Linked DNA regions of Homo sapiens: regions 1 and 2 are each linked to region 3. The links are contacts of gene promoters, found by promoter capture Hi-C in blood cells and fetal thymus (Javierre and others, 2016). All regions are on one chromosome and are shown on one strand. Each heading gives the region's core, a stretch centred on a gene start or on the middle of the fragment in contact. The rest is flanking DNA. Distances are from core to core; before and after follow the strand shown.

Region 1 (2,927 bases), core at 238-2,737, 360 kb after region 3:
AATGAAATAAGCTATCACTTTATACCCACATGACTGAATGAAACCACAAAGACTGATCATGTCCAGAGAGTGTCGATGTCCAGAGAGTGTCAGTGGGGACACCGCTGCCCCACACACCAGCATCATTTAAAATGGTCACCACCTGTCCAGAGAGCAACTTGGCAATATCTGTTGACACTCTGAATGCCCAAACCATTCAGCCCAGCAAGTCCACTTCTAGGAACCTATGCTACGGAAACAACCCCATGCAGACACAAGAGTTTAATGTACGAGACTCCACATGTCAGCATTTTCCATAAGTGAGAAAAATGGTAACAACCCAAAAGTTCAATAAGTAAACGGTCACATATTGTGCAAGTGTCAGAGAGAATAATGCTGCTTCCAGCTTTATCCAAGTCCCTCCAAAGGACATGAACTCATTCTTTCTTATGGCTGCATAGTATTCCATGGTGTATATGTGCCACACTTTCTTTATCTAGTCTATCATACATTCTGCAGGTGTATTCCAGAACTTAAAGTAAATTTTTTTTAAAAAAGAATAATGCTGCTATGCACAACGGACAAGGGATCATGGCTAAGACACACGGCTGGGGGATCGAACTGCAAATCTTATTTACAATAGGATCTCATTTTGTTGAAAAATACTTTTAAAACATGTATTTGTGTAAAAGACAAGTAAAATATTTCCACAGACAGAAAAAAAAAATGGGAGGAGTCTCCACCAAATTGTGAATAATGATTATCCTTGTGGGCACTGAATGGGGCAGTGGTGAAACTTGGGGGGAAGCTTTCATTTTCTATTCTACATGATGCATTTCTGTAAAGTTCGAGCCCTTATAATTAGTACATTTTAATTTCATAATCAGAAAAAATATTTAAAGGATCTTAAAATCTAGCATGTTAGACGCCAGCCCCCATTGATGGAGCCAGGGTCCTTCTCAGCCCCAAATTCCACTGCCAGAAAAATGGCACCTTTCTCCTCCAGAGATACAAGATAATTGCTAGAAGACAGCATTTTTAAAACAGAGATATCAAGCCAGGTGCGGTGGCATGTACCTGTAGTCCCAGCTACTCAGGAGACTGAGGCGGGAGGATTGCCTGAGCCCAAGAGTTCAAGTCCAGCCTAGAGACAACATAGCAACACCTCCATCTCAAAATGCAAAACAAAAACTACAGATGGCAGATCTATTTAATGACTAGCTCTGGTGGGGAGTGCTGCCCCTCAGACCTTGACCTACCCAGGCAGCCTCTAGTTATTAAAGACTTCTCAGTATTGGAGAATGAAACAAAATAGACAAGCACTTTAAAATTCACCAGAAGTTCCCAAGGAATTTGCTTCCACGCATAGAAAATAGTCAAGTCCGTTCTTCCGAAAGCTTGCTTCAAAGTCCAATTGCGGGGAATTGATGTAGATGGTTCCATTTTAACTTCTTCAGCCAGAGGAAATCTAAAAATTCCTCCTTCCAGCTCAACAGAGCAAATCCACCTATTGCTTCTGCAAAAGGAGGACAAAGATCCTCCTGGGGCCGCAGAATTCAGCAGCTTTTCCTTGGATTCCTAGGGCAACCAACAGCTCCGGGACACCAGGCCAAGCTTCAAAAGGCAGCCTGCCAGCCATCAGACTCCCAGGCACCTGTGCAGTCCCAGGCGGTTGAGGAACTGGGGGAGGGCTTGGTTTCAACCTACTTGCCAGATCACCAGCAAAATAAGACATGTTCAAAAGAAACAACTGCACATAAGCCAGGGCTCTGGTCCCCAACCCATCAGGTCAGCGGCCCAGCCCCTCAGTGTGCTGGTGAGTGGGACAATCAGAAAAGGCCTCTCTCCCTGGAATAACTAACAGTCTCTCTCCAGCCCCACTCCCACTGCCTCGTGTGTCATGGGAAGTCTCTAAAATTCTCCACGGGCTTCCCCACACGTTCTTGATTTCCTCTCCAAACACCACCAGCCAGCCTAGGAAGCTGGGTCACAGGGAGTCTGCGTGCTGCAGACACTGAGGGGTGCTGCAACGCTGTTTGCTGGACACAGGGAGTCTGCGTGCTGCAGATAACGAGGGGAGCCACCAACACTGTTTGCTGGATGCTGCTCAATGGTGTACCATCAAATGGGTGGAAGGGAAGAGGGAAAAGGAAGGAAGAGGGGAGGGCAACCCCTCACTCTCACTGTCAGTGGGTAATAAAACCTTTCCAGATGTCAATCAAAAGCCTTAACATTTTGCCCAGCAATTCTACTCTTGTAAATTTATAGTAAGGGATCATGAATATCTGCCAATAAAAAACAAAAAACACAACTACAAGGATATTTATTACAGCATTCATTCATAGCAGAAAAACATTCTAAACAAATTTAATGTCCAACCCTGGGATCCAGCTCCAGAAAGGACAAACTCGTATGGCTGGGTGTGGAAGAAACCGTCCATGAGTGTGGAAAGTGCTCCTCATATACCGTCCAGGAGAAGGAATGCTGGGAGCCGGGGTGCCCAGGAACAGGGAGGAATCGTGGGCAAACAACAGGAGGGCCCCCGGCGGGTGGAGTCTGGTATCTCAAAGCTTCCTCCTTTCGCTTTCTGCTATCTCTGTTTTCCAATACAATGAATGAATTCATATGTGATAACTAAAAATAATGTTTTTTAAATAAAAGTGTTCTCTCTTGCCAAAAATCGCTGTAATGCTAAACTGCTGAGTTGAGGCATATGAAGTTGCCTATATTGGATCACTTTTTGACATACAGAAATAACAGTTTCATATGGTTCAACCTAATTTTGTCACAAAATCCGGATGAGTGGTAAGACCCGTAGGAATCACTTCCTCTGACTTGTCCTTGTCCCTCCTCAGGGACAAGTGAGGAGGCTGTGACTTGCCCAGGGCCCCGGCAGTGTAGGTCTTCCGCCTTCCAGAAGGGTCCTTCCCACCACTGGCCCACCACAG
Region 2 (3,390 bases), core at 120-2,619, 300 kb before region 3:
GGAATTTGTACTGGAGTGCTTTAAACAATGCCGGCCAGAGGCTTAGTCCTGTTAAAGATAAGAACTGGGGGAGAAGGCAGCGTTTGGCCACGGGCCAGCATTTTGAGATCAGTCACTCTATCTGTGGAATTCCCTACCCCCTGTTCATCCCTTGGCCATCTCGTTAAATTGGAAAATAAATCCCATCCCTGCTAAAGTGTTGGCTGATAAAGGCTTGAGCTATAGCCCCTTCAAGGGGAATTTGCATTTTAATAGAGGATCGTCAAGCCCCAAAGGAATCAATATCTCTAACGGTGAAATTTCAAGCACCAGCAACCGAGATATTTTGGGACTACACTCTCTAGCGTTTCTCATCCAACAGTAAGGTCTGCTAGAAAGACACGGAAGAATGGTCTCAGGAAATGACCGGCCGTTTCCCTTTATTACTCTGAACTTTGCCTTTTCACGTCTGGTCCCTTCAGACTCCCTAACGCTGGTGATCTCTTAATCTGTCAATGCAGCCCTTTTCAACACAAGCAGAGTCTTAAAGTTGGCTCATCAACAGGGCCACAAAGGAATTATGGCAATCAAAACTTGCAGGATTTCCCGGTATTCCAAGGGAGCCAGTACTTAGATATTTTAAACTCTATGTTGGCAAGAGGGAGTGGAGATGGTTTAATCGGTTATTAATGATATTGCGCATTTAAATTCGTTTTGTGCAATTTTTTTTTAAAGCCCAAACTTTTAACTTGTATCAAAAGCATGCAAACCAAAGGTGGGTAAGGGACATCGTGTGTGTCCTGGCAATGTTCTCGGAATGTCCTCCAGAGCTGAGTTCTCTCAGCGGATGGCTTGGGAGATTCTCGAACTGCAGAAAAGCAGCATCTTGGATCTTGGATTTTTGCATTCAAGAGGCTCCTGTTCGCCACACCTGCGGCCCAGCGCTCGGAATTTCCCTCCTGTCTGCTCCCAGCCCGTCTCCCCGTCCTCAGCGCCCCGCGCGCCCATCCCGAGCCGTCCCCAGGCTCTGAAGGCTCGGCTGGCCCGCTGCCGCTATCGGGCCCCTCCGCGCAGCCGACCCAGGGCTCCGCCGCGGAGGCTGATGCCGTTGCCCTTGATGCGCTGCCGCCCCCGCTCTCCTTCCGCAGACCTGCAGCCGCCAGGGCGCGAGGCGTGAGCGCGGAGGCTGGGACGCCAGGACCGCACCTGCGCCTTCCCCGCCCCTCTCCCGGCTCCCGGGTCCCGGCTCCCGCTCCCGCCCCAGCTGGGGCCCAGCGCACGGCGGCGGGGCTCGCGCCCGGGGACGGCAGCGGCTCGCGCCCGGTACGGCAGCAGCGGCGGCGGCTCGCGCCCGCGCTCGGGCCGGGGAGCGCGCGGGGCGGGCGGGGGAGGGCGCAGCGCGGCGCGGCCGGCGGGCGGGCGGCGCGGCGGCGGCGGCATGGGCGCGGGCACCGGCGGGGGCTGCGGGCGCCCGGCTCCCCGCCCGGCCCGGCCCGCTCCCGGCGCGCGGCCGCCGCAGCCCTGGCAGCCGGCTGGGAGGCCGTCCCTGCACCCGGCGCAACTTGCCTCGGACCCTCTGTGAGGAGAGGCGGCGGCGCGCGCCGGGCCGGGCGGGAGCGGGCGAGGCGTGCGGGCGCCCGGCGCGATGCCTCCGGCCGGCGGCCCCCGAGCGCCGCGTCCCGCCGCGCTGCCCCGCAGCCTGTCCCGCCTGCGCGAGTGCCCGGGCCGCTCCCGCATCGTGCTGGCGCTCGGGGCCACGCAGATGGCGCTCGGATGCCTCATCGTGGCAGTCAGCTTCGCCGCGCTGGCGCTCACCACCTCGGCCCGCGTCCGCCACTCCTGCCCCTTCTGGGCAGGCTTCTCGGTGAGTGTCCGCGACCAGGCGGGGACGGGCTCCGGGGACTGCGCGGGCCGGGGGGGCTAGGCGCTGCGGCCGCCGGGACGCCACCGCGGGCGGCAAGTTCCGGCGGCCAACGCCGGGGCCGAGTAGCTGCAGCGCGGGGCGCAGTTCGAAACTCCGAGCAGAATAACTCCAGGGCCCGGCTCGCCGCTCTCGGAGCATCGCGTTCCCGCTCCTATTGCGCTGATTCCCGGAGTTACTTTTCTTGGAGGAAACAGCAGCCAGGCGCCCGCCGTCCTCCGAGCCCGCAGCGGCCGGAGGGAGCGCCGGGGACCGCGCGCGCCGGGGACACGACCTCGCCATCCGAGCGGCCGCGGCCGAGGCGAGGAGGTGGGAGCCGAACCCGGAGCGGAGCAGCATGTGGGCGCGCCTCTCACCCTCGCGGCGGCCCTGACCGGGGGCGGTGGGGGTGGGGGGTGGGGTGGGGGGGCGGGGGAGGGGCGCCTCCCGTCGGGTTTTGGGTCAGCCCGGATATCGGGGATCGGCCGGGCGGCCCCTGTGGTCGCTCGCTGACTTGGCTTCGGGGACTTCTGGTTTCCCGCGTCCGCCCAGAACGGCGTGGTTTGTGGGCGACGGGACTGGGCAGGCGACCCGCATCCGGCGTCCTGGGGCAGGGGGCAGGCAAGGGGGGGCGGCGTGCTTTCTGAGCTCCAGACCTTAAGGATGACCGATTTTCAGACTCTTAACCACCAAATCAGAGAAGCCAGTGGTGAACAAATCTCCATAGAAGAAAGACGTCTCGATTAAAGTGACTGTCCCCAAGAGTTAATTTTTGGCGTTTTGTAGCATTTTGATGAAAGTCGGTTTTTTTCCTATATTAACAAAGAATGGACGTTATGGGAATGGGAGAGATATATATGCAGAGCAGATATTTATGAAGAGAGGCACTTGTTCTGAGAACTCTTGACATCTGTAACTGCATTTGGTGGATCGTGCTGAAATACATCGCATAGGCTTGTAAACTCAGTATGTTTTACTTCCATCTACAGAAATCCAAACCAATCCTTTAAAACTAATGTTTGCTATTTGTTCTTGAGTTTTAAAATTTGAAAAATTCGTCCAGCTTTGCTTATTTGTTTATTTCATAATGGTCTTTGTTTTTTAAGTTCATTGCATGGCTTTTACCATAAGATCTGAGCAAAATTGCCTCTGGAACACCTCGATCGATACAGGTGTGGTTGTTCATCCTAATGGGAGTATTAATTTTCGAAGCGTATTTTAGATCAAGGGTGAGCCTTGGAGAGCTGAATAGGAACAACAGACTGTGTGGTCATAGCTGGGAGTATTCAAAGAAAAGAGAGGAGGTTGGAGGCAAGCACACGGGAGCCATGATTTAAATGCCCCTCTCTATATAGTTTTCACACATCTATTGCTCAGTTTTTACCATTATTTAATATGCATTGTTTTCATGTCTGTCTAGCGGGCACTGAGGTTTAAGTCTGCTGGAACCAGCCTACAGGTGGCAGACTGGTGAATTAGCTCCACTTCCTGGCTCCTCCCTGAGCCCGCCC
Region 3 (2,911 bases), core at 359-2,858:
ACTGAGTATAAAACAATATAAAACAATATGAGACGGTCTCTCTATTCCCTCAATACAACATCCACATCCTGCAGTAGGGACCTTTTGCAGAATTCTAGATGGCAGGAAGCTTCTATGAACCTAAGTCCAGATTTTAATTTGCAAGGAAACTGAAGCAGATGAATTTTCTCATTGTAAAAAAATGAATGCCTTGATAATATATTTGTTTTTCATAGTAGGCCTTTGTCATTAAAATTGATGCCTGAGGATATAGTTGCATCTTGTGTGGAACAGTAAGTTATTACTCATTGCATACCAGATTTTAGCATACTTGCATTAGTTCATGGAATATGATTTTACATTTACTATTGCAGTTCCAGTGCCATTATCAGATTGCATTTTCCTACTGAATTACAAACAAAAGTGTTATGCTACTAACAATTAACAAAATTTTAATAAGGTTGTGTTTGATGCTATTACTCAGATAATGTGTTCTAAATTGCTTTCCTTTGAATATATTTGCATTAAAGAGGAACTCAATTTGGTTCTTTGAAGAGTTTATCCACTTTCTGGGTAGCTTTAAAAAGACACAGGGAAATTCAGTTTCTTCTTTGCAAGTAAATAGAGAAGAAACAAATTTGCTAAGATCTGTAGAAGTCATGGCAGCAGACTGCTGATGGTTTGAGTTAATGAAATGACTCATTTTGGCTACTTGAGTTGCACAATTAAAATATACAGTAGAGACTGTATATCACATCATAGATGAGAGATAAATCCCCCAGTGTTCTCTTTTTTTTCCTCAAAGCTAATATATTATGAATTAAGAAATTTAAGAGCTCCACATTATTGCAATTCTTGATCAGTGATGCCCCAAATTAAGTAGTAATCTCTTGAGAGTGCACGTTTGTTTGCAGCATTCCTCTTACCCATTTCTGCTAAAATTGTGGTTGTGACGAAAGCAGTTGTTTTCCAAAAGATAAACCCATGTGACCAAGCTAAAACATTTACCTAATACTGACACGTTTTTTGTGGTCTTCTCATAGTTGTCTAGCTAAAGGAGTTTAATGCAGAGAATATAAATACGGAAATAGTGAAACTGAAGTCCTGCTTGCGCAGAAAGCCTGCAGCCGACTTTGGTTTTTAACAGACTCCACGGGGCATTAGAGAAAGTAACTGGGGGCAGTGGGATGGAGGGTATGAAATTGGGTGGAGGGACGAAAACTAAGAGCCCTCTGGGTCTTTTATGTCCTTCTACATTTTGTGTAGAAATAAATGTTTTTACTTTACTTCCACGGTCGGCCCTTCCTCTTCACCTTTTTTTTTTCTCACACGTTCATCCTCTGAATTCTTTCCGTTTACAAATGCTCCCGATTTAGAAACTCATAATACTGTCTGTAAAACTTGCCTGAGCCTGTGTGGTCTGAATTTAGCGACACACTTGTTTAGGAGTTTCGGTTCTCGCTCTCTGTTTGCATGGTTTGGTAACAACACTTCACTATACTAAAAATCATCGCCCGGACCTGCAGGGCTGCACGGAAAACGCTGTTCCTTTTGGTACCCGCCGCAGCCGCGCAGGCGCACCGCCCAGCCGCCCTGACGCAAGGCGCAGGCTTCATGACGCAGCACGCAGTCTCAGCCGACACTGCGCGCGCCTCCAGGCACCGGCGTTAGCGGGTCGCCGACCCGCAATCCCCGCCGCGGCTGCTTGCCTACCGGAGTGTGCGCCGGCACCTGCCGCCGGAGACATGTTGCAAAAACCGAGGAACCGGGGCCGCTCTGGCGGCCAGGCCGAGAGGGACAGAGACTGGAGCCATAGCGGAAACCCCGGGGCTTCGCGGGCCGGGGAAGACGCCCGGGTTCTCAGAGACGGCTTTGCCGAGGAGGCCCCGAGCACGTCCCGCGGGCCGGGCGGCTCGCAGGGGTCGCAGGGCCCCTCGCCTCAGGGCGCCCGCCGGGCCCAGGCCGCCCCCGCCGTGGGGCCCAGGAGCCAGAAGCAGCTGGAGCTGAAAGTGTCCGAGCTGGTGCAGTTCTTGCTGATTAAAGACCAGAAGAAGATTCCGATCAAGCGGGCCGACATACTGAAGCACGTCATCGGGGACTACAAGGACATCTTCCCCGACCTCTTCAAACGGGCCGCCGAGCGCCTCCAGTACGTCTTCGGGTATAAGCTGGTGGAACTTGAACCCAAGAGCAACACTTACATCCTCATCAACACCCTGGAGCCTGTGGAGGAGGATGCCGAGATGAGGGGTGACCAAGGCACGCCCACTACGGGCCTCCTGATGATCGTCTTAGGGCTCATCTTTATGAAGGGCAACACCATCAAGGAAACTGAAGCCTGGGACTTTCTGCGGCGCTTAGGGGTCTACCCCACCAAGAAGCATTTAATTTTCGGAGATCCAAAGAAACTCATTACTGAGGACTTTGTGCGACAGCGTTACCTGGAATACCGGCGGATACCCCACACCGACCCCGTCGACTACGAATTCCAGTGGGGCCCGCGAACCAACCTGGAAACCAGCAAGATGAAAGTTCTTAAGTTTGTGGCCAAGGTCCATAATCAAGACCCCAAGGACTGGCCAGCGCAGTACTGTGAGGCTTTGGCAGATGAGGAGAACAGGGCCAGACCTCAGCCTAGTGGCCCAGCTCCATCCTCTTGAAAGGTGGATTCAGAGGGACCCCCGGGACAAGGGTCTGAGACCCAAAGGCACAGTTTAGAGGATTGGGGGAAGGGAGAACGAACCCAGGGAGCATATTGCTGTAAACGCTTCAATGTGTGTAGCTTTAGGATGTGTTTGCAAAGTTTTGTTTTTTTAATGTTGTGTTATTTTGCTCCAGATTTTCATCTATAAACAAAGGAGCATTTGTTTTGATTTTACTCTTTTTGGTATAAAAAATTTTGCTAGCTTAGTAAAACGAATTGGAAAACTTG

What was found. The method cuts DNA at HindIII sites, captures the fragments that hold promoters and counts their contacts. A CHiCAGO score of 5 or more calls a contact.
Region 1: a contact is called between a fragment that was not itself captured here and the fragment with the promoter of NSMCE3 in region 3, in 1 of 17 cell types (total CD8 T cells). The highest score is 6.0, in total CD8 T cells.
Region 2: the fragment with the promoter of ENTREP2 here is called in contact with the fragment with the promoter of NSMCE3 in region 3 in 1 of 17 cell types (endothelial precursors); the score reaches 8.6 in endothelial precursors.

The regions. Positions count from the first base shown.
Region 1 is chr15:28,903,798-28,906,724 of GRCh38, reverse strand. All of the region lies in intron 1 of APBA2 (amyloid beta precursor protein binding family A member 2), which reads right to left. Among named protein-coding and RNA genes, the nearest start is that of APBA2, 19 kb to the right of the region's middle. RefSeq lists an enhancer at 2,511-2,927. The HindIII fragment of the contact is 217 bases long and covers 1,379-1,595 here.
Region 2 is chr15:29,568,958-29,572,347 of GRCh38, reverse strand. It overlaps ENTREP2 (endosomal transmembrane epsin interactor 2), which reads left to right and starts at 1,369. Exons shown (of 11, transcript NM_015307.2): 1 at 1,369-1,843. The coding sequence starts at 1,625. The HindIII fragment of the contact is 6,565 bases long and covers 1-3,390 here.
Region 3 is chr15:29,268,519-29,271,429 of GRCh38, reverse strand. NSMCE3 (NSE3 component of SMC5/6 complex) reads left to right here and starts at 1,608. Exons shown (of 1, transcript NM_138704.4): 1 at 1,608-2,911. The coding sequence starts at 1,725. The coding sequence ends at 2,639. All of the region lies in intron 2 of ENTREP2 (endosomal transmembrane epsin interactor 2), which reads left to right. RefSeq lists enhancers at 1,312-1,811, 1,812-2,313. The HindIII fragment of the contact is 8,019 bases long and covers 112-2,911 here.